Linked DNA regions of Homo sapiens: regions 2, 3, 4 and 5 are each linked to region 1. Evidence: promoter capture Hi-C in 16 types of primary human blood cells and fetal thymus (Javierre and others, 2016). All regions are on one chromosome and are shown on one strand. Each heading gives the region's core, a stretch centred on a gene start or on the middle of the fragment in contact. The rest is flanking DNA. Distances are from core to core; before and after follow the strand shown. Region 1 holds the start of PRKDC (protein kinase, DNA-activated, catalytic subunit). Region 2 overlaps PCMTD1-DT (PCMTD1 divergent transcript). Region 3 has its middle 2.6 kb from the start of RB1CC1. Region 4 overlaps FNTA (farnesyltransferase, CAAX box, subunit alpha). Region 5 overlaps PCMTD1 (protein-L-isoaspartate (D-aspartate) O-methyltransferase domain containing 1).

The links. Contacts are between HindIII fragments. The CHiCAGO score rates a contact against its expected background, and 5 or more counts as called.
Region 2: a fragment that was not itself captured here is called in contact with the fragment with the promoter of PRKDC in region 1 in 1 of 17 cell types (naive CD8 T cells); the score reaches 8.8 in naive CD8 T cells.
Region 3: a fragment that was not itself captured here is called in contact with the fragment with the promoter of PRKDC in region 1 in 1 of 17 cell types (non-activated CD4 T cells); the score reaches 5.3 in non-activated CD4 T cells.
Region 4: a fragment that was not itself captured here is called in contact with the fragment with the promoter of PRKDC in region 1 in 1 of 17 cell types (non-activated CD4 T cells); the score reaches 5.3 in non-activated CD4 T cells.
Region 5: a fragment that was not itself captured here is called in contact with the fragment with the promoter of PRKDC in region 1 in 1 of 17 cell types (naive CD4 T cells); the score reaches 5.2 in naive CD4 T cells.

What each region holds. Positions count from the first base shown.
Region 1 is chr8:47,958,846-47,963,236 of GRCh38, forward strand. PRKDC (protein kinase, DNA-activated, catalytic subunit) reads right to left here and starts at 1,291. Exons shown (of 86, transcript NM_006904.7): 1 at 1,128-1,291. The coding sequence starts at 1,281. MCM4 (minichromosome maintenance complex component 4) reads left to right here and starts at 2,096. Exons shown (of 17, transcript NM_182746.3): 1 at 2,096-2,169; 2 at 2,286-2,369; 3 at 2,671-2,835; 4 at 3,208-3,371; 5 at 3,460-3,561; 6 at 3,919-4,014; 7 at 4,100-4,195. The coding sequence starts at 2,300. RefSeq lists an enhancer at 760-919 and silencers at 1,100-1,149, 1,160-1,459, 2,130-2,529. The HindIII fragment of the contact is 8,899 bases long and covers 1-4,391 here.
Region 2 is chr8:51,905,499-51,910,380 of GRCh38, forward strand. The region is part of intron 1 of PCMTD1-DT (PCMTD1 divergent transcript); the gene reads left to right. Among named protein-coding and RNA genes, the nearest start is that of PCMTD1-DT, 8.6 kb to the left of the region's middle. The HindIII fragment of the contact is 5,663 bases long and covers 1-4,882 here.
Region 3 is chr8:52,714,507-52,719,524 of GRCh38, forward strand. No RefSeq gene overlaps it. Among named protein-coding and RNA genes, the nearest start is that of RB1CC1, 2.6 kb to the left of the region's middle. RefSeq lists a silencer at 1-53 and enhancers at 114-423, 444-493. The HindIII fragment of the contact is 1,681 bases long and covers 2,159-3,839 here.
Region 4 is chr8:43,059,241-43,063,886 of GRCh38, forward strand. The region is part of intron 2 of FNTA (farnesyltransferase, CAAX box, subunit alpha); the gene reads left to right. Among named protein-coding and RNA genes, the nearest start is that of FNTA, 5.2 kb to the left of the region's middle. The HindIII fragment of the contact is 2,316 bases long and covers 726-3,041 here.
Region 5 is chr8:51,888,718-51,893,490 of GRCh38, forward strand. The region is part of intron 1 of PCMTD1 (protein-L-isoaspartate (D-aspartate) O-methyltransferase domain containing 1); the gene reads right to left. Among named protein-coding and RNA genes, the nearest start is that of PCMTD1, 7.9 kb to the right of the region's middle. The HindIII fragment of the contact is 3,507 bases long and covers 1,298-4,773 here.

The sequences.
Region 1 (4,391 bases), core at 41-2,540:
CTGTCTCAGCCTCCCGAATAGCTGGGACTACAGGCGCTCGCCACCATGCCCAGTTAATTTTTGTATTTTTAGTAGAGACAAGGTTTCACCATACTGGTCAGGTTGGTCTCCATCTCCTGACCTCAGGTGATCCAGCTGCCACAGCCTCCCAAAGTGCTGGGATTACAGGCATGAGCCACCGCACCGTGCCACATATAGCATCTAGTTTAAACTGTTTAAGTTATTCCTACACCATATTCACTACTAGACCCTCCGGAAGAAAATCTCACCTTTTAATAGGGCACAACATCAAGGTCTGCATACTCGTGTTTTAAAGAAGGAATACAGGAGATCCACATAATTAAGTATTTGAATATTTAAAATGCTAAAAAGAGGCACTTTTACTACAAAGGGGAAAAAGTTCCCACCCAGGCATTGCTAAAGAGTTAAAAGAACATGACTTCAATTACATTTCTTCAATTTTTCTCAAAGTAGGAACGGCAAATAGAGGGGTTTGGAAAAGGTACTGGTGGGATTAGGCGAGATTCAGGTGAAAGAAAATACTTTCTCTTGGCCGGGCCCGGTGGCTCACGTCTGTAATCCCAGCACTTTGGGAGGCCGAGGCGGGGGGATCACGAGGTCAGGAGTTCGAGACCAGCCTGACCAACATGGTGAAACCCCATCTCTACTAAAAATACAAAAAAATTAGCCGGGCGTGGTGGCGCGCGCCTGTAATCCCAGCTACTCGGGGGGCTGAGGCAGGAGAATAGCTTGAACCCGGGAGGCGGAGGTTGCAGTGAGCCGAGATCGCGCCACTTCACTCCAGCCTGGGCGACAGAGCGAGACTCCGTCTCAAAAAAAAAAAAAATTATTTCTCTTGCCCTGCCCCCCACTCTGCATAGCAATGATTGCCATATTAGGGGTCGTTTTCACCAACTTTGGCTTTAAAATATCTTTCCTCTAATACTAGGGGGTAAAAAGCAGTATGACAAATCCCTTTATACACATACACAGAAATTCCCCCAAGAATCTAATTGCTGTACTTCAAAATACCGTCATCTAAACACAGAGAAGCGCCGGGCTGCCCGGCTCCAGAACGACTCGGGAAGCCAGGACCCACCCGCGGCCCAGCTCGGGCCGGTACCCACCCAGCACCGCGGGGCTGCTGCTCAGGACGCATTCCTGCCCCAGGCCGCGGATCAGTTGATGACCGGCCAGGGCAGCACCGCAGCGGTCCGCAGCGGACAAGGTCTCCTGCAGCCGCAGCAGGGAGCAACGCACACCGGCTCCGGAGCCCGCCATGCCGCCGAGTCCCGCTCCCGCGCGTGCGCCCGCTCGGCCCGGACCCGGAAATGCCCCTACGCGCGGAGGCGGGGCTGCGGGGCGCGGCGGCAGGAACTTTCCCGGGGACCCCTGCGGGAAGGCCTGGCCAGTAAGCGCGCCTCTTTGGCCCGAATCAACATGGAAACCTAAGGAAAAACGTCTGACCTGCGGAGGTAGTTTGGGTGGCTACTTGGTGTTGGACTTGGCTAAATAAATACCAGAGGCAGATAAAACAAGCGAGGGGCCTAGGTCAAGAGTTCCAAGTTTGTTCCTCGATAAAAAACGACAAACGCGGTCGGGGGCGGTGATGCCCGCCTGCAGTCCCAACACTTTAGGAAGCTGAGGCGGGGGGATCGCAGGAGTTCGAGACCAGTCTGGGCAACATAATGAGACCATCCCCACCACCTCCCGTCCTTAATTTTTTTTAATAAAAAAAATCTTTAAGTGAGAAATGCATCTGTAATGTCCTTATTAACCAAAAACGCCTAAGGGATAAAGAAGCACACGCTCCCTAGCCAACGCTAGAGGAACACACCCCGAGAGCTGGTGCTGTAGGACCCAGTTTTCCCGCGAAAACGCTGCCGCGCAGGGGGTCAGACCATCTGGACCAAGGGGGGCCGAGCGAGGCCTACTTCTGGTTTACGCACGGGCGCTGAAAGAAGCGGCACTGTCCCCCCCTGCCGATGCGCAGTGGCGCCTCCCGGAGGCGGAGCCACGTACGAGCGCCGCTGTGATTGGTGAGGCCCCGCCAGGGGCGGAGACGACCTTGCCGCCGGCGGGAACTCTGGGTCTCGCGGTTTGGGAGCGCTACTCGCCAGGTGGACTCGGAGTCCGCGAGCGTCGTCGGCAAGCGGCCGCCTTTCCACGGTAACCGCGCGCCGGCGGGGAGGGCGTGGCGCGGAGCCGACGGGAACGTCCGCGCTGCGGAGCAGGGCAGGGAAGCCGGGAGGCGGGCCCGGCCCGAGCTTGTCCTTGTCGCGCAGGTACTCCGAGCACTATGTCGTCCCCGGCGTCGACCCCGAGCCGCCGCGGCAGCCGGCGTGGAAGGGCCACCCCCGCCCAGACGCGTGAGTCCCCCGAGCCGGGCCCACTACAGCCCCCGGCGCCGCCCCGTCTGCCCTCTCGCCGCAGCTGGCAGCGCTGGGTGGGTGCGCGGGACCCGGGCGCTCAGCCTCGGGCTGGGCGCTGCCGCTTGGTGCGCACAGACACCCACAGCAGGCTGTGGCCTGGGTGCTGCTTAATTCGATTGCCATTTGCCTCTGTTTGGTTTGGTTCAGTGGTGAGTCATAATGCCCCAAGGAAAAGACAAATCCAGGAAGGCCGGCCCTGAAAGTTAATGGCTGTCTTTTCTGTTTTGTGTGACACAAGCTCGGAGTGAGGATGCCAGGTCATCTCCCTCTCAGAGACGTAGAGGCGAGGATTCCACCTCCACGGGGGAGTTGCAGCCGATGCCAACCTCGCCTGGAGTGGACCTGCAGAGCCCTGCTGCGCAGGACGTGCTGTTTTCCAGCCCTCCCCAAATGCATTCTTCAGGTGCGTGTCTGAAGATCTTGGTTTTGCTGTGCTTGATACACAGCTGATGCTTTATCTGCTCAGGTTTACTGGCTTTATAACAGTTGGCATAACGCCTAAAGCATCCCCTCTGCACGTGACTGAGCATGTTCTTAACCAGAGGAGCTGAACGGAGTGCAGAAAATAGTAGTTTTAGGGCTTAGTGAGCAGAGGAAGCAGCTTCTCTGGTGCTTTTTTTTAATAGAACATTTAAGAGTGCTCAGAATCTCAGCCACCGCAGGTTGCAATAAATATTCAGTTTGCTGTTGCGATTAGATGGTATAGATCAACAGACAACATGCTGTAATTTCAGGTTTGATATGCCACCAGAATTTCCTAATTTTGTTTTTATAGCTATCCCTCTTGACTTTGATGTTAGTTCACCACTGACATACGGCACTCCCAGCTCTCGGGTAGAGGGAACCCCAAGAAGTGGTGTTAGGGGCACACCTGTGAGACAGAGGCCTGACCTGGGCTCTGCACAGAAGGGCCTGCAAGTGGATCTGCAGTCTGACGGGGTGAGTATGCAGTCTCCTGAAACCATCTTATGGCGGGTATCATGTGGGTAACTCTGTTTTCATGATTCTGTCATGTTTTTCTGTGTAGGCAGCAGCAGAAGATATAGTGGCAAGTGAGCAGTCTCTAGGCCAAAAACTTGTGATCTGGGGAACAGATGTAAATGTGGCAGCATGCAAAGAAAACTTTCAGGTGAGCTACATGTATTAAAATTCTTACTTTGGGCTCTGAAAATGTTGGGAGACCGTGTTTATAATCTATATCTAAGTAGCCATAATGACTAGAAGGGCCACCTGTGGTGGCTCACACCTATAATCCCAGTACTTTGGGAGGCCAAGGTGGGAGGATCACTTGAGGCCAGGAGTTTGATAGCAGCCTGACCAATATAGTGAGACTCCATCTCCAAATTAAATTTTAGAAAAGAAAAAGGAAGAAAAATATTATTTATTTCTGTCTCCTGATAGTGACATACTCATAACTTTGTGTGTTTTTAGTAGTTGCCTGTTCCCAAATGCTATATGCCTAATACAGTTTTCTCTCCACTTAAAGAGATTTCTTCAGCGTTTTATTGACCCTCTGGCTAAAGAAGAAGAAAATGTTGGCATAGATATTACTGAACCTCTATACATGCAACGACTTGGGGAGGTAATCAAATACTCTTTAAATTCAAGTTACGTGTTTTAAAATAGTTAAATTAGCAAAATATAACTTGTTCATTTTTATTTTCTAGATTAATGTTATTGGTGAGCCATTTTTAAATGTGAACTGTGAACACATCAAATCATTTGACAAAAATTTGTACAGACAACTCATCTCTTACCCACAGGTAAGAATTTAGCTTTGACCTTGATGAATTTTAGTAACAGTCTAGAAAGAATGTTTCCAGATAACAGAAATTCTTCAGTAATGAAGATAGTATGCGCAAACACTTTAAGAAACTGAGTATCATCTCCTTTGGCCCGGTGTGGTGGCTCACACCTATAATCCCAGCACTTTAGGACGCCGAGGCAAATGGATCACTT
Region 2 (4,882 bases), core at 1,095-3,594, 3.9 Mb after region 1:
GCACCAGACGACTGGGCACGGTGGCTCACACCTGTAATCCCAGCACTTTGGTAGGCCGAGGCAGGCGGATCACGAGGTCAGGAGATCGAGACCATCCTGGCTAACACGGTGAAACCCCGTCTCTACTAAAAATACAAAAAATTAGCTGGGCGTGGTGGCGGGCACCTGTAGTCCCAGCTACTCGGGAGACTGAGGCAGGAGAATGGCGTGAACCTGGGAGGCGGAGCTTGCAGTGAGCCAAGATTGCGCCACTGCACTCCAGCCTGGGCGACAGAGTGACACTCCATCCCCCCCCCAAAAAAGAAAAAGAAAACAAAAGCACCAGACAAGGTAAACAGGAAAGGAAGACTTCATATAACATTTACATTATATTAGATATTATTAGTAATCTAGACATTATTTATCATATATGGGAGGATGTGCATAGGTTATATGCAAATACTACCGTATTTTATATCAGGGATTTGAGCATCCAGATGTTGGTATCCAAGGGTGGGAAGTCCTGGAACCAACCCCCTATGGATACCGAGGGGCAACTGTATTTTTATTTTACACCTTTTTCTTTTCCCCTAATGTATTTTAGCAGATAGCCAATTGTGTGATTCCTTGCCTTGGTGATGTAATGAAGTTTTTGGCAGGGCAAAAAGCAGACTTTTCTTGTACAGCAATGACCCTAATTTCCTCCCGACACTATAAATGGAAAAGAGGAATATGGATTCATTGAGCAGTAAAACAAGCCAAAATCTGTTTACCAAACAGCATCATAGCAGGTGGCAAAACCTCAGGGGAAATGGATGCATGCTACACATAGGCAGGAGTTTTCCACTTGGGGTTTCCACCTTTGCCTCATTTCCTCATGCCCCACATGTAGAATCGAATCTGCAGAACTTCCAGAACTGAAGGGTCCATCCCAGCTAGGACAACAAGCCTCTCACAACCAATGGCTTATGACCCACAGAGCCTCCTCAATGATTTGACTATATGTGAGATTCCAGAATATTTTAATCATCCTGTAGATAGGAGACCTGAGAGTATAACTCAAAGAAAAATTTCTCGTTTGTTTCAAAAAATATGAGCTCAAAGTCAAAAATAATTTATTAATTATTTTTAAAAATTTAAATAATTAGAATATACTTGGCTTACCAGATTTTCTAAACTGAGCTATCCTCTTTGACTAGGCTATATTACCTTATGATCTAAAACTTAAACAATCTCTTGTGGTTGTTTAATGACATTCCAACATGTCATGAGAAAATATTCTTGGAAAGCTGTCTGGTGGTCAGGGGTTCTCAACACCTCTACTTTTGCTTGCCACGTACTTCAGACGACCACACAGCCTGGTTTGCTCAAGTCAGTCCCAGTTTATGACTGTTATCCTGATGGAATGACTAATGGTTTTCCATGTCACTCTCAGAAGTGTCCAGGTTTGGATGATAAATTATATATATATATCTCTCTCTGCGTATAATTTATATATAAAAATTATAATGTATATATAATATATATCATACATACAGATATAATTTATATATCTATAATATATTTATATAAATTATGTAGTTATAATTTTTGTCATTAAAAAATTAGTTATATAGCTGTCTATATAATTTATATATTAAAATTATTTATATATATTATATCAGTATATCTTATATAGAGATATTATATATATAATATATATGTATATCTATATAAATTATATGGAGAGATATATATAATTTATCATCCAAACCTGGACACTGCTAATACAGAACTCATTTAACTGTATCAGTCTGGATAGGCTAGATTATCTGCTCTAACAAATGACACAAAATTGCAGTAGCCTATCATGGCAAAAGTTTATATATCAGACAGTATTCCAGGGCAGCTGTCCTCCATGAGTTGGCTCAGTACTCCTAACACCATCATATTGACATGTGCTTTCTATTGTTATGATGGAAAGAGAGTTCTTGCAGTGTCTTATGCTAGCAAATAAGTGATCCTGCCTGAAAATGGCACACATCACTTCTGTCCACGTTCATATGGCTCACACTGCCTGCAGGGGGACAGGTACTTTTCCCATTTTCCAAGAAGAACAGAATATGAGTATGAAAAGTCCCGGTGTTATATATTCAAACAAGAAGCCACATACCAATGAGATTATTTATTTTAATAACGAAAAATGTATTCTTATATGGGCAGATAAGTTCCTTTGCCACTACCTTAGTCACAATCTTGGTAATGATAAGTCTTTGAGGATACTAACTTAAAACAGTTCTTATGGTCAAGATAAGAGTTTTTAAAGTTTTGTCAGTAAGCAAGAGGAGCAGTAGCAAAGAAGAAAACAAAATCCAAAACATGATTCAAGATCCTTTTAGATAACAGGAATAATAAAAAATAAAAGTTGTAAAACAGAAACGCATACTTCACAAATATGTGCATTTTATAGTCCCCTAACTTAAATAATACTCAGGAATAAAAAACTGTAAGGTTTTTTATTTATTTATTTATTTATTTTTGGGACAGAGTCTCAAGCTGGAGTGCAGTGGCGCAATCTTGGCTCACTGCAACCTCTGCCTCCTGGGTTCAAGCAATTCTCCTACCTCAGCCTTCTGAGTAGCTGGAATTTCAGAACCCCACCACCACGCCCAGCTAATTTTTGTATGTTTAGTAGAGACGTGGTTTCGCCATGTTGGCCAGGCTGGTCTCAAACTCCTGACCTCAGGTGATCCACTCGCCTTGGCCTCCCAGAGTGCTGGGATTACAGGTGTGAGCCACTGCCCCCGGCCAAAAACTGTGAGTTAATTCATGTACATGCATTAATAGTCTATTATATATCTTGGGAAAATTAACTGTTTCTGACTGTAGAGACAAGTTCTTTGTTTCAGTAGAAAACTATTAACACCCCCTTGTGGGTTACCAGATTCTAGTCCTGTACATTGACTTTGAGCTATTTTTCACCTCTTTGTAACCCTACATAGTTTTGTTGCCTACTTGTAAATGGTACTGGACTCTGCTCTTTCACACATAGTGTCAGTCTTTATCAAATTTTCAATTCTTCTAGTTTCCTTTAATATCTGGCTACAACTCTCCAAATGTTTCTGATTTACTTCTACCTTCCTGACTTAACTAAAACCTGCCTATCCAGATTCTTATTGGGACTCTAGGTTGTCTTGTAGCCAGCCTTTTCTCCTAGATCTGCAGAAATCCTGCAGGATAAATTTCCAAGTGCTCATCATCACAAAAGATCATGTTAGGGCATCCTTCATGCCCAGAGCTACTGCTGTGGAGGCCACTCAGGAAGTTCACTGGAACTCCTGCCTCTGCCACACTCTGCTGTAGGAAATAACCATGATCGTGACAATCTCACGAAAACCTCCCTGAGGTCTGCGTCATCACCAAAGTGTTCAAACTGCAAACCAGAAACTGGTTTGCAGTGGCAGTTGGATTGCCACTGCCATCCTTATTCCATCTTCTACAGGTGCTTCACACCTGAAGTATAGAATCACCAGCTGGGTTCATAGTCTGCTCCAACAATTAATTTTTGTTTTTCTTTTATTTTCATAGGAATACCCTTCATTAAATGCTCTTGCCATCTAACAAATGTCTTTACTGCAAATCTCAAGAGAATAATTTAGCTTTTCCTTAATTAACAAAAGGAAGCCAACTTAGAAATGGACTTACTATTTAGAGGAAAGAAAAATGTCTGTTCTTTCCTTGAACAAGAGAAAAGACTGACCAAACTTTATTTATGTGTGTGTGTGTGTGTGTGTGTTTTGGGACAAGGTCTCACTTTGCCACCCAGGCTGGAGTGTGGTGGTACAGTCAGCTCACTGCAGCCTCATACTTCTGGATTCAAGAGGTCCTCCCACCTCAGTCTCCTGAGTAGCTATGACTACGGGCATACTCCACTGAACCTGGCTAATTTTTTTTTTTTTTATATACAGATAGGGGGTCTCACTTTGTTGCCCAGGCTGGTCTCAAACTCCTGGCTTTAAGTGATCCTCCTGCCTCAGTCTCCCAAAGAATTGGGTTTATAGGCGTGAGCCACTGCACCCTGCCTGACCAAACTTTTGTCCCACTACTCTCAGCCCTCTTCTTGGCTAGGCTTCATGTTTGACCTGCTGGGCCTGATTTTGCGAGAATCCCCACACCCTTGGTACTTGTATTAGTCTGCTCAGGCTGCCTTATGGCAAAATACCATAGACTGGGTGGCTTAAACAACAGACATCTTTACACAGTTCTGGAGGCCAAGGACAGTTTGCCAGCATGGATGGTTTCTGGTGAGAGCTCTCTTTTTGAGTTCAGTTGGTTGCCTCCTCACTGTGTTCTCACACGGCCTCTTTTCTGTGCACCAGCAGGGAGAGAGAGTATGTCTCTTCTCATAAGGACACTAATCCTAGTGAACCAGGGCCATATTCTTATTACCTCATTTTAACTTTAATTTTAATTTTAATTATTTCTTTACTCCATATATAGCCACAGTGGGAATTAGGGCTTCAACAAATGAATTTGGGTGGGGAGGGAGGACACAGACGTTCACACCATAACAATAAATCAAGTTCCCCTTAGTAATTTTTCATCCACTAACACCTCACCTTGCCCACTGGCTATAAATCCCCAGGTATCTAGAGTTGAGTTCAGTCTCTCTCCCTTATTACAGTTGTCTTGAATAAAGTCTACCTTGCCTGTTTAACTTGTCTGGCACATTTTTTCTTTGATAATCCTGAACTTGAACAGTAGCCAGGGCCAGGCATGGTGGCTCACACCTGTAATCCCAGCACATTGGGAGGCTGAGGCAGGAGGATCACTTGAGGCCAGGAGTTTGAGACTAGCCTAGGTAACATAGCAAGACCCTATCTCTACTAAAAATTTAAAATTAGCTGGATGTGGTGGCACACGC
Region 3 (5,018 bases), core at 1,749-4,248, 4.8 Mb after region 1:
CGTCTACGCAGGTCCGGAAGTCGGCAGCCTGCCGGGAAGGGGGCGGCCCCGCCTCCGGCTCTCCGGCCGGCAGGTTGGCTGTCCTGGCCTGACCCTGGGAGACTCCGCTGGGGCCGCCTGTTATGGTGCTAGCTGCCGTCCCGGTGCGTACTTTCCCAAGGTGAATTTGACCTTCTTTGCGACAGCTAGGCCCTGACTAAGGTCGACCCACCAAACACTGGATCGTCCCCAGGCGAAAGAGAGCTTGTTCCCCTCAGCCTGTCGCGGAGGAGCGGAGCCAATCGAGGGTCTGGTGTCCCCGTCGCCTCTCCAGGGGCAACCTGCGGACTAGGCCAAGGTCTGTAACAGGATAACGTACCAGCGCCTGGCCCAGGCGTTCCTGCCGCCACCTCCCCGCATATCCGGACCGCCGGGACTGCACGCAGCTGGCAAGCGTCCCCCTGTTAACTCTGCAAGGGTGGGGCGGCACCATTTCTCAGACCAGGTAAGGCAAGAAAACATGCAAGAGAGAAGAGAGGGAAGCCTAGGCCAATCGGAATGAAAATGTAAACGCCACAACCACGTTTTCAGCTTTACAAATACTGAATCTTGTAGTGGGTCTAGTGGGTTAGGGGTTAGCATGAGCACCCTAATGGTTGGGAGACAGTTTCAGGGGACTCTTGCATTTGTGAAGATGATCAGTCACAGGCAATGACTTGAAGCCACGAGGCTTGAATATTAAAATCTGATGAGCAGATGTTACACGTAGAATAATTACATAATAGTTCTCAAATTCCTGTTATATCCAGGAATATCTGGTATGAGTGAAAACTTGGAGGTGCCTTCTCTAAAGTCATCAGGAATTCTGAGTTGTGTTTGTAAAAATAGGAGGCACAAGAGGGCACCAAACTGAACAAAATGTTAGGTGGAAACTGAAAAACGTTGGTTAGCATGAACAATTTCAGTTTTCAGTCACACTGACCAGTATCTGTAAGTTAGGATTGAGATGGGCTTGTTTTATTTATTTACTTTTAAATTTGTGCTGCTACATATCCCAAACAAATGTGGTCTTTATCATCACTGGCAAGCCATTTTACTTATTGGTTAAGCTGGAATTTTATTACACCACCCCAGCAAGATAGAGGAGAAAAGCGAAAATTAAGTAGTAAATGGTTATTATGCCTTAAGGGAAGGTGTGAACTGGCAAGACAAAAGAGCCAAATTTAGTAGTAAAGCATAGTCATCAGCACACAGAAAATAAGTGGTGAGGAGGAGTTTGGCCAGAAAATTGGCTAAGAAAAATGGCAGTATGACCAAGAATGAAAAGAAAAAGAAAGAAAAGAAAAACTGCAGTATGAGGCCTGTAAAGAACGTATTGGTACTTGCACTTCCTCTTATTAGTGACATTCATTATTACAAATATAACCCAATTTAGAATGTAAAAATCTTGCTGGAGCTCGGTGCAGTGGCTCACACCTGGAATCCCAGCACTTATGGGAGGCCGAGGCAGGAGGATTGCTTGAGCCCAGGAGTTGGAGACCAGCCTGGGCAACGTAGTGAAACCCCTTCTCTACAAAAAATACAAAAATTAGCTGGGCGTGGTGATGCACACCTGTGGTCCCAGTTACTCAGAAGGCTGAGGTGGGAGAATCAGTTGAGCCCAGGAGGTCGAGGCTGCAGTGAACCATCATGGCACCACTGCACTCCTAGCCTGGACAACAGATTGTTGCCCTGTCTGAAAAATAAAAAAAAATTTCTGAACTATGCCAGTGATAATCTGGTAAATTATAAATGTTGTCTGACTTTTTTCTTTGGAAAATGAATTAATTCAGTCCTAACCTTCTCTCTTAATCACAGGTTGCAATAAATTACCAGAAACGACTGGTTCATACCTTATACACCTCCAGTGTAAATGTTAAGAGTTTGTATATTCTTAACAGACTCTTAACAAACATCAGTAATTCTTTCCTAGGGATAAGTGAAAATGTACTAACATTAATTCTATTATATATATGCAAATATCTAGAGGAAATACTGTTTATAAGTTACTAATACATGTATCCATGGTAGTAGGTCTTGAAAAGTTACTTTTGTTGCCTATTGGACACCCTCTATTCTCCCTTCCTTAATAAAACAAAAAAAAGAACAAACAAAATTCTGTAGCATCACTTCTCAACCAAGCTTTCTGATAGGAAGTCCTCAGTCCAATCTCATTTTTGGCCTACTGTGCATTTCTTACTTAACTTGCAAACAGATCATTAACAAGGACCTCCAAATTACAGTAAATTACAGTACTAAGATTTTACTTGAACTTTCTAAAGCATTCGCCATTTTAAATTATTTAACTTTTATACTCCTCCTTCCCTTTTGTGCTGTTTCCTTCCTGGCGCTCCTAAATATCTGTCCATTCTTTGGACCTCTTCCAAATTTTCAGATAATTATAATAGTGTGCGAATGATGCAAAGGTAATGTGCCGTGGGAGAGAACAGAAGAGAGAAACCTAATTCTGGCCTCATCACATTATTGTTTTTTTAAATTTAATAACTATTTTAGATGCTTCAGTAGATTTACAGTGAGGGCAAAAGAAAACAGTTTTCTTTAGGAGTATGGAGGGATTATATAGGATGTACAATAAATACCCTAAGTACTTCAAATCAGTTCAGATCTTTAAAATCCTATTTTTCCTTCAGTTCTCAACTTCAATATCACCTACTCTGGGAGTCATTCCCTACCATGCTTGTTTGTTTGTTTGTTTGTTTGTTTGTTTGTTTTGAGACAGAGTCTCACTCTGTTGCCCAAGCTGGAGTGCAGTGACACCATCTCTGCTCACCGCAGCCTCTACCTCCCAGGTTCAAACGATTCTCTTGTCTCAGCCTCCCTAGTAACTGGGATTACAGGCACTTGCCACCACTCCCGGCTACTTTTCATACTTTTATTAGATGGGGTTTCACCGTGTTGGCCAGGCTGGTCTCGAACTCCTGATCTCAAGTGATCCACCCGCTTCAGCCTCCCCCACAGTGCTGGGATTACAGGAGTGAGCCACAGCACCTGGCCACATGCTTGTAATTTCTTTAGATTCTCACATTGTATCTTTCAGTGTCATCTAACATGCTGACTATAAGCTCCTTTTTAAAAGATGTACTGTACCTGGTATATAATGGTATGCACTCAACAAACATTTGACAGTACCCCACAACTTGTTCAGGCCCTCAATTTATACCTGAATTGACCTCCTATCCATCTCCATTATTTACTCCATCCAAGACCAGTCTAATCAAATCTCTTCCCTGCCTAACAACTTTCATTGGTTTTGTTTTGTATACTAGATACAATTTAAACTTTTTTTTTTTTGAGATGGAGTCTCTCTCTGTCACCCAGGCTGGAGTTCAGTGGCGCGATCTTGGCTCACTGCAAGCTCCACCGCCTGGGTTCACACCATTCACCTGCCTCAGCCTCCCAAGTAGCTGGGACTACAGGCGCCTACCACCACGCCCGGCTAATTTTTTGTATTTTTTGTAGAGACGGGGTTTCACCATGTTAGGCAGGATGGTCTCGATCTCCTGACCTCGTGATCCGCCCGTCTTGGCCTCCCAAAGTGCTGGGATTACAGGCATGAGCCACTGTGCCCGGCCCTGGGCATGGGTAAACTTCTTAACCTAGCATGAAAGTCTCTCCATGATAAGGTATCAACCCATCTCTCCAGTGTATCTCCCAGCACTTTTCTCCCCTTTATATGTGCTCTATATGAGTTTCCTCATCCAGGAATGTTCTTCCCCACTTGTTCACCTTTAAAGTCATCCCTTAAAACACAGCTTGGATGTTAGCAGCTTCTAACTTCTAGAGTTTCCACTCTTCTATTAAGCTTTGCTCTGTATCTCACAACTGTAAATTTTTCTCTCCCCTCTTAGTCTGTGAAACTCTTAAGATTAAGAACTATGCATTATTAATTTTTAAATTCCTGGAACTTTATGGAGAGCTTGGCAGTCAGCAATTAATACAAGATTTGCTGTATGTAATACATTCTGCAAATTTTTATATTTATATTGATGGTTGACTAGAAAGTTACTGTGGAAAATTCCTGCCATCAAATATCTCATAGGCTTGTAAAGGGGACCATTCAAAACAATTGCAGTAACAAAGGCAGGGTGCAGTGGCTCACGCCTGTAATACCAGCTGAGGTGGGCAGATTGCTTGAGCTCAGGAATTTGAGACCAGCCTGGACAACATGGTGAAACCCTGTCTCTAGTAAAAATACAAAAATTAGCCAGGCATGGTGGCGCCCAACTGTAGTCCCAGATACTCAGGAGACTAATGTGGGAGAATCAATTGAACCTGGGGACGGAGGTTGCCATGAGCCAAGATCATGCCACTGCACTCCAGCCTGGGAGACAGAATGAGACTCCATCTCAAAAAAGAAGAATAATAATAATTGCAGGCTGGGTGCAGTGGCTCACGCCTCATGCCTGTAATCCCAACACTTTGGGAGGCTGAGGCGGGTGGATCACCTGAGGTCAGGAGTTCGAGACCAGCCTGACCAACATGGAGAAACCCCGTCTCTACTAAAAATACAACATTAGCCAGTGGCGCATGCCTGTAATCCCAGATACTCAGTAGGCTGAGACAGGAGAATCACTTGAACCCAGGAGGCGGAGGTCGCAGTGAGCCGAGATCGCACCATTGCATTCCAGCCTGGGCAACAAGAGCGAAACTCCGTCTCAAAAAAAGAAAAAAAAAATAAATATAATTGCAGTAACAAATTTATATGATATTAATTCTTTACCAAAGTACATTCAGTTTATTGGGAAGATCATGGTAAACATCTTAATTTTGTCAACTCTGCCTGAGGCATTCAGCACATGTATTAAATATTTCTCAAACAACTTAGTGTCATTACCCTAATTTTCTTTTAGGCAATGTTCAAACAACCAGCAACCACAATTCACATAATTTGGCTTTATTCAAAGTATGAGGCACAATTATTGTTCATTTTTAAAAGGGTTAAAAAGATGTACGTTTTGGACTTTGTTTTTAAAACCATA
Region 4 (4,646 bases), core at 634-3,133, 4.9 Mb before region 1:
AACTATGTAGCAAGATAGATGACAAATTTCTGTCTAATAAAAATCTGAATGACTTAAGATGAGTTAATTTTGTGTTTTTTTTATGTGTGTGTGTGATTTAGCTTTATGATTAAAAGTTTTATTTTGCCCAAAGACTGGACATATTCTAAATAATAAACGTTACAGTATAGTAGATAATAGCTACTATGTGATTGTGGTTTTCTTTTCTTTGCTGGAGACTCCACCGCCAGGGAGATTATGCATGTACCACACAATATAAATGAGTTACTGTTTTTAGAATAAACTTTGGTTGCTGAAACATCAGGATTTAAACATATATTTTGGCAGTGAAGTGTTCAGCTCAGTTGGAATACATTTATTGATATTAAAATGAGTGGATTTTTTTCTTTGACAAAATATTCTTTTGTAATGAATGTGAAAGTGTAAATTGAAGGTCGTGGAAATGTTAATTGTTAGTTCTTCTAGGAAAGGGAAAATGAATAAAATGGAATGATAGTTTTGTAATTTTATGTATATATATTTCTTTCAGTTAAGGCTTTTCTAAGATCATTCTTTTACAAAAGCATTTTTTTTCTGCTAATAAAATGACAATAAATGTTTAAAAAAGCATAATGATAGGTTTGCCGTATTAAGTGTGCAGATATATTACTAAACTTAATGATTAAGTGGAAGTAGCACAGAAGTAGATTTGTAAAGACTCGAGAAATAGATCCTCACTCTATGAAAGCTTAATATGTGATAAAAAGGACATTTTATACCTTTATGAAAAGGGTGGATTAATCAAATAATGGTTGGAACAGTTGGCTGTGCACTTAGATAAAAGCAGAGTTGTATCCCTATCATTCTTAGGATGGAGAACGTATTAGGCAAGATGTAAACCTCAGAATCGATTAAGGAGAAGGTCAGAATATATAACTGCACGGAAATGCAAAACTCTCATACTTTGAGAGATAGTATATATGAAGAGACAATTCACAAAATAGAAATATCTATGAAGAGATATTAACCTTACTAGTGATCAGAGAAATATAAACCATAACTTATTCAGATTCATAAGTACTTATAACAGAGATGTTGGGGGAAACTAATATAATCATATGTTTCCATTGAGGATAAATTAACCTTTTTGCAAGGTATAAAATTAACATTTTGGGCCAGGCGCGGTGGCTCACGCCTGTAATCCCAGTACTTTGGGAGGCTGAGGTGGGCAGATCACCTAAGGTTAGGAGTTTGAGACTAGCCTGGCCAACGTGGCGAAACCCTGTCTCTACTAAAAATACAAAAATTAGCTGGGCGTGGTGGCAGGCGCCTGTAATCCCAGCTACTCAGGAGGCTGAGGCAGGAGAATTGCTTGAACCTGAGAGGTGGAGGTTGCAGTGAGCCACGATCACGCCATTGCACTGTAGTCTGGACGACAAGAGCAAAACTCTGTCTCAAAAAAAAAAAAAAAAAATTAACTTTGTGAATTCTTACATACACCATGGTTAGAAACCCTAAAGGAAAAGATAAGTTTGACCTGTCAACCGTTTATAGACAAATATATCAATTTAAAACTTACACAGCAGAAGAAACCATGAGCAAGTTAAAAAGCAAGCAGCAGTGTGGAAGAAGGTATGTCATTTAAACAGGATCCATATTAAAACTGAGACGTTTTTACAACAGGATAAGGAGACAGAGAGTTTAATCAAAAAATGGACAAAGGGTATGAACTGGCAATTCACAGAAAAGAAAATCCCATTGGCCAATAAAATAGGAAGAATCCTTTATCATTAAGAATGACAGGTTAAAATGAGAATTCCATTTTCCACCCATGATTTAAGTGGCAGAAATGAAAACTGTCTTGATATTATATTAGGTATTAAGATATATGAAGAGCTCCATACATTTCATATGGGATTTTTCGAATGTTTAGCCATTTTGGAAAGTAGTTTGGTATATCTGTTAAAACTGGAAAATGCACTTATCTTACAACCTAGCAGTGTGTTGCTTCTAATTTAATATTGGGTTCATTCTGGCACATGGCATGAGAAGATATGCACAGGAGGTTAAAAGCACAGACTTTGGAGCCAGACCATCTGGTTCAAATTCTAACTTCACATTTTACTGACTGTGTAATCTTGGACAAGTTATTTAACTCCTATGTGCCTCTGTTTCCACCTGTGTAAAATGAGGATCTTGGTAGTAACTATAGATGTAGTAAATTATTTACATAAAATAGTAGAATACTGTCTGGCTCATAGTAAGCACTATATATGTTAGCTACTATAATTTGCAGCATTTTTTGAAAAAGCAAGATATTGGAAGCTATATGTCTATCTTTTGGAGAAATGGATAAAATAAAATGTATCATTGTCATACAGTTAATACTATATAACCGTTAAGAGGATTTAGATCTATTATAACATGAACAGATCTCAGAAACAATGTTGAGTTAAAAAAGTCAAAGTTTGAGAATCTTCGAGCATGACAATATGTTGTTTATAATTTTTTTTTTTTGAGATGGAGTTTCGCTCTTGTTGCCCAGGCTGGAGTGCAATGGCATGATCTTGGCTCACCGCGACCTCCGCCTCCCGGGTTCAAGTGATTCTCCTGCCTCAGCCGCCCGAGTAGCTGGGATTACAGGCTTGCGACACCACACCTGGCTAATTTTGCATTTTTAGTAGAGACGGGGTTTCTCCATGTTGGTTAGGCTGGTCTCGAACTCCCGACCTCAGGTGATCCGCCCACCTCGGCCTCCCAGAGTGCTGGGATTACAAGCGTGAGCTACCGCGCCTGGTCTGTTTATAATGTTTGAATTAAAAGAATAATGTTTCATTTTACCTTTTACAGTGAATCGGATTTTGGTTGTTTACATAGGAACCTGAGGCTTTGGAGCTATCCCAGCCTGATAGCCTCCCAGTTTATTTTATCAATGTGCATATGTGTATGTTTTATGTGTGTGTGTGTGTGTGTGTGTGTGTGTAAGATAATGTATTATATATATACATTTGTATACATATTTAATATGTTACCATTTTGTTTTAAATTTGAAATTATTTGGAAGCTTGGTTTTTTTTTTGAGACAGACTTTCGCTCTTGTTGCACAGGCTGGAGTACAATGGCGTGATCTCGGCTCACTGCAACCTCTGTCTCCCAGGTTCAAGCGATTCTCGTGCCTCAGCCTTCTGAGTAGCTGGGATTACAGGCATGTGTCACCATGCCCAGCTAATTTTTGTATTTTTAGTAGAGATGGGGTTTCACCATGTTGGTCAGGCTGGTCTTGAGCTTCTGACCTCAAGTGATCCTCCCACCTCGGCCTCCCAAGGTGCTGAGATTACAGGCCTGAGCCACTGCTCAAATTCAACTTTTTAAAGATAGTGTTTAGAACTAGGTAAACTTTGTATACCTCAGAATTTTGTGAAGAGGAGTAATTGTTCATATTCGTGTCTGATACTTTCAGTGTTACAGGCTAAAAGGAAAAAACTGTTTCTCTATAGTCAAAATACTTCGACACCAAATGTTTGGATTTTTCACACCAAGCAATTTTCTGTAGACACCAACTAGTTGCCCTACAATTTAATTCAGTTCTGACATTACCCAGAGTTAGCACAGATCCCACAGGCCAAGGGATCAGTGCTGCAACATCCATCCCACTTCAGATGCCATTGCAAGTAGTGGGTCACCACATTACCCACATTTAATATTCTACTTGGCTGTAAATGACCCCTTTCTGTTTTTTTCTTTTCAGAGACAGGCTCTCACTATGTTACCCAGCGTGGTCTCAAACTCTTGGGCTCAAGCAGTCCTTCTGCCTCAGCCTCCCGAGTAGCTGGGAGTACAGGTGCAAACCACCATACCTGGCAGTTCCTTTTTTTTTTTTTTTTTTGAGACAGTGTTGTGCTGTCACCCAGGCTCGGTGCTTGCGATCATGGCTCACTGCAGCCTTGACCTCCCAGGCTCAAGCGATCCTCCTACCTCTGCCTCCCGAGTAGCTGTGACTGCAGGCCTGGATCACCACGCCCGATTAATTTCTATATTTTTTGTAGAGGCGGAGTTTCCCTAAGTTGCCCAGGCTAATTTTAAACTGCTGGGTTCAAGTGATCTGCCTGCCTCAGTCTTTTGTTTGTTTTTTTTGTAATCCAATGCTCCCAATAAATATCCTTGAATACTTGCACACATATGGGAGTATATTTGTGAGAGAACTTTCTAGAGCTGGAATTACTGGGTCAAAGAGTATGTAAATTTTAATGATTTGTTGTAGAAGTATTTGTACTAGTTTACACTATCTTTAATAATGTACGAGTGAAAAATGCAAAGCTCAGAGTGTGATGGGATCTCGTTTGCATAAAAATGAAGGATGGAATTAGGCTATATACTTGTAGATGCATAGACTATATTTGGAAGGATACACTAGAATGAGTTAATAATGGTTGCTTCTGGGGAGGAGGCTTGGGAATTTAGTGGAATGGAAATCTAGTGTGAACCTTTTTGTACTGTTTGAGTTTTCTGCCTTTGGGCATATTTTTCAGTTAAAAATCTGATCAAAATGTCAGAAAAACAGCTATATGAATATATTTGAATATATGCAACCCTAATTTTTCTTTTATACATAAGGCCTATGGGAGATATGGAATCTGGCATGAACTCATGCACACACGTAAGCAGTA
Region 5 (4,773 bases), core at 1,801-4,300, 3.9 Mb after region 1:
ACTGGTAACTGAAAAATACTCCTTTAAGTTGCAAAGATTAAAAACAAAGTAATGAAAGTCTTTATATAGTGTATTAGTTCTACAGTCTTAGCAAATTATCCCGCATAACTCAACCATTTCTTAGTGGCTGAGGGTCATTATGAGGAACAGTATGATAATGGTATGTCACGAGCACCTCAGAGACCAACACACACAGTAAAAGCATTCCACCATCTGGAACTGCTTTGCTCTCTCACTGCAGTAACTTCTCGTTTCTTTTTTGTGTGACTAGATGATTCAAATCTGCTTTATTTTACACACAACTATGGTGGGTCTAGTGTGACTCCAAAGTCTGTCCCTGACTATATAGGACACATTCTCCTTGCTTTTCCTAGGCCTTTTGTTGTTATTGTTAACTCCTCACTCACTGCCTACAATATTGGTAAGAGAGCATGAGGTTATCAGTCCAAGTTTGGCCTCTACTTAAAACGGATATTGCTTCTAGGTTAGGTCCGTCACTTTCTATCAAGTGTTAACTGACCTCATAATCTCTGAAAAGTAGTATACGACTCACAAAATAATATATAACCTTTATTACTGATTATTAATGCAACTATCATTAATTGAGCACTTACAGCATAAAGCTTTGAGGTGTTTTAAGTATATTAACTCATTTAAGTCTTCATAAAATTTCATGTAACAGCATTATTTTTAGGGATGGGAAACGAAGGAAAGGGATTAAATAACTTCCTTAAGCTTTTACAGCTAGTAGGAGGCAAAACTGAGGTTGAGTTCTAGATCTATCTGACACCAAACCCTGTGTCCCTCAACACTGTTGATTGCTGAGTCTGGTATCATCATTTTATAGAAAATAAAGCAGACTGAGGAAACTGAAGTCATTCTGAGTCTTAGTTCATGCATCTATAAAATGGGAATAACAATACTTTCCTACCTCTTTGACAAGATGCAAAGTTATACGAAAATGTGAAAATGTGGAAAGTATCAAATTTAACAGGGTCTCATGCTGACTACACAATGCCAGGAAGCACTATTCCCACATAAAGTGTCAGTTTTCCTGAAGCAGTAAAGGGAATGTCATTTATATTAGATTCTATGTTAATAGTGTCTCCTGAGCTGTGCACCACAAATGGCCATATGTAAGGATATACGTGTGTGTGTGTGTGTGTGTGTGTGTGTACACACAAAAATATATATTAGTGTGAAGTGAATTAATTTTATTGTGCTGCCTAGATACAATAAAACCAGTGATAACTAAACAGTGATAACTGAACAAGTCCTTAACAAAAAAAAAAAAAAAAGCTTATATAAAGCCTTTTTGTCATAAATAATGAGGTAATTAAACTACTTTAAGTCCATGGTGATTACCTCCCTTTTCTTTAAAGCCAAATCAACTGCATGAATGGTTATATTCACAGATATTTATATAGATCATTGTAGAAATGCCTACATCTATTTCTAATTTCTCTGGTTCATAAAAGAATAAAGGTTCAAATTACTCTATTTACAGGGAAAAGTCAAGCCTATTAAAAACGGTTTAGATGTATTTAAAATAATTCTTTCACAATGGGATTTACAATGCCTGGTAAATCAGTATATATCACTGCTAGGCTTTTCCTTGAAACTAAAATTAGAGTGACTGCCTTTGCATGTTCCAAAATTTGTTCTTATCCAGTTGAGTATGAAGACTGACCAGAAAATTTAAAATCCGCTCTAGCCGCCAAGACACTACAATGAAAACATGAAAATTTAGAATACCGAGACTTACAGGAGTAACAGGGATAAACCATCCTTCTAAAACAAAGACTGTTTTGCATTTGCTTTTTGAGCTATGACATTTCTAAATAGTTCCTTCTACTCAAGGCCCAGTATTTTAAATATGGACTACAAAGATATAATGATACATAATCAGAACAAAACCTCTGCACTACTTACGCAGTAGCAGTGACAGAGAAGCACCGACTGATCCATCCACCAGCACACCTGTGGCTCCCATAACCAACAGCTAAACACCCATGTGCTTGGCAGTATAAATGTAGAAATCCCCTAATAACATTAAGTCAAGGCCTTAACACAACCTTGGTTACTTAAAACACCACTTCCTAGCACAGATGCATCCAGGTCAGAGAAAATGCAAGCACTCACATTTTCCATACTTCTATCACCAAATACATCTGCCACAGGATTACATGGCAGAAGGACTTACAAAGCTGGACATTTCTAGTGGTGTTTTCATTAACACAGAGGTCCCTCAGAATTAAAAACCATACGAGCCTCAGGTGATAACATCCCCGTTAACCTGTTTCTCCTTTTCTTTATCCATATTTTCTAGTCTTTCCACAATAAATTTCTACTGCTGTTATACAGGGAAAAAAGCAAAATCAAATAAATGAGCTTTTACTTATTATGTTCACAATATCTAGGGAAGTATAATTGACCAAAGAGAATCGCAGGAGCTCAGAAATGGGTCAGTGCAAATGAACCACTGTTAAAAATAAATCTAAACCATATGAACCTAGGCAGCATACACATACCACCCTAAAAATAAATGACATGAGGCCGGGCAAGGTAGCTTTCTCCTCTAATCCACTTTGGGAGGACAAGGCAGGAGGATGGCTTGAGCCCATGACTTTGAGACAAGCCTGGGCAACATACTGAGACACCTATCTCTACAAAAAATGAAAGAAAAAAACAATTAGCCGGGCATCGTGGCACATGCCTGTAATCCCAGCTACTGGTGAGGTTGAGGTTGGATTGCTCGAGGTCAGGAGGTGGAGGATGCAGTGAGCCGAGATCGCACTACTGCACTCCAGGCTGGGTGACACAGCGAGGCCCTGTCTCAAAAAAAAGAAAACAAAAAAACACTCAAATCCCAAATTTAGCATAGAATGCCTGGAAAATAAAGAGAATATATCATTATTCAGTAAATTATATGCCACTAGTTAAAAAAAAAAACAAAAAATATATATATACATATATATGTATATATATATATATAGCTTCAGAAACCTTAAATGATCTGTAGAAATAACCTGATAAACTAGCTACAGAGGCTAAATAGGTAGTACAGTTTACACAATTAACAGTGTGTATTTACAGCCCCCTTGGATCTAAAGGAATCAAAGAACATTCACTATATAATTACCTGGTATCCCACCACCACCTTCTTCTCTTGTTAAAGATTCTGACTTTTACCATTCATTCCATGTACTTGTTATTCAACAGAATTCTGACTGACATTTTTAATATGCACGAATATATTGTTTCTGTTTATACATAAGTCTGAAAGCATTCATACCAAACTGTTAAAAAACCATTACCCCAGCAAACCATGAGGAGCAGACACAGATGATGGGGGCCTGCTTGTTTAACTCCATTTAATTTAGTAATTTAAATCTTATTTCTGAATATACAATAATTTTTCAATAAAAAGATTAATAACCACATACAATATTGTAAGCCACAACATTTCCTTCTAGATGACACAAAGGGATCTAAATTCATCCCCTGCATAGGTTTCCTACGTTAAATATACTAGCATAGGCCATAGATCCAGACACCAAACTCCAGATACCACGTATCATTTCTAAACACTGAACTGCTAACACATGCAGGGCTGACCCTTGCCCAGAGTGGACCATTGGTCATGGCAGCTGCTACCCATCACCACTACCATCCCAACTCTTCCAACTCGATTGTCAACTATGGCTTCTAGCAAATGTCTTCACATAACCCCACAGTTCTCTCCATTCACTTACACACTAATCATCAGGTCAGAAAAGGAACCAAAAAGCCCATTTCAGCTTTCAAACTTTATTTTCCCCTACAAGAAAAGACCACCTACTTTTTACTTTTCTTCCTTCAAAGTGTTGTCACAACGGTTGTAATAGTTAGAAACTAAATGCTCATTAGTAGGGAATATAGTTAAATCAATTATAATTGAAATACAATCTATAGCTGTAGCTATCTATAATATACTCTGAGGCTGAAATTGTTTTTTTAAGAATGAAGTGGTTCTTTATCTCCTCATAGAGATATATGGTTATGTGAAAATCCAAGTGAAAAAAACAGCAGTGTACCTCATCTTTATGTAAGTGGAAAGAAAATTTATTTATATTTCATTGTACATACAAATAAAAAAATAGTTTCCATTATATCATTCCAGAGGTAAGTGACTACTTCCCATCCCAGGGGGGAAAATGGGAGGCTGAGGAAGATACATTTTCAGTTTATATATTTTTTGTATCACTTAAAATTTGCAACATGTGATATATTAACTATTTTTAAAGTCAGTGAATTATTTTAAGCTCACTTACAATTTGTATCTTCAAAGAAGTATTTATGATTACTTTAATATTTTATAAAGCTAAGGGCAGGTAGACTACAAATGGATTAGTTTGAGAATCAGTCTCATTCCTTTATAAGCATGCATTTTAACATTCCAAAAAGAAAACGTCTCTTCCCATCACCAAGATATCCTACATTCAAAATTCTTAACAGAATTATATTTTTACTTTATAAAGCAAGAATTAATTACTTATTAGTTAGATAAACTATAAACAATACAGGGCACAATGGCAGATATAAGAAAAAACTGTAACTTCTGCATGATAACCATTAACATCGATAGATTATTTTTAAAAAGTCTGAAATTTCATATGAACTCTTCAGCAATGTAAGAATTATGTATAATCTGTGTGAGGGCATTTCAGCTGATTGTACAGCTGGAGCTTCCTGATATCACCAAAAGGAAGAAAACAATACTAAAGTATAGAC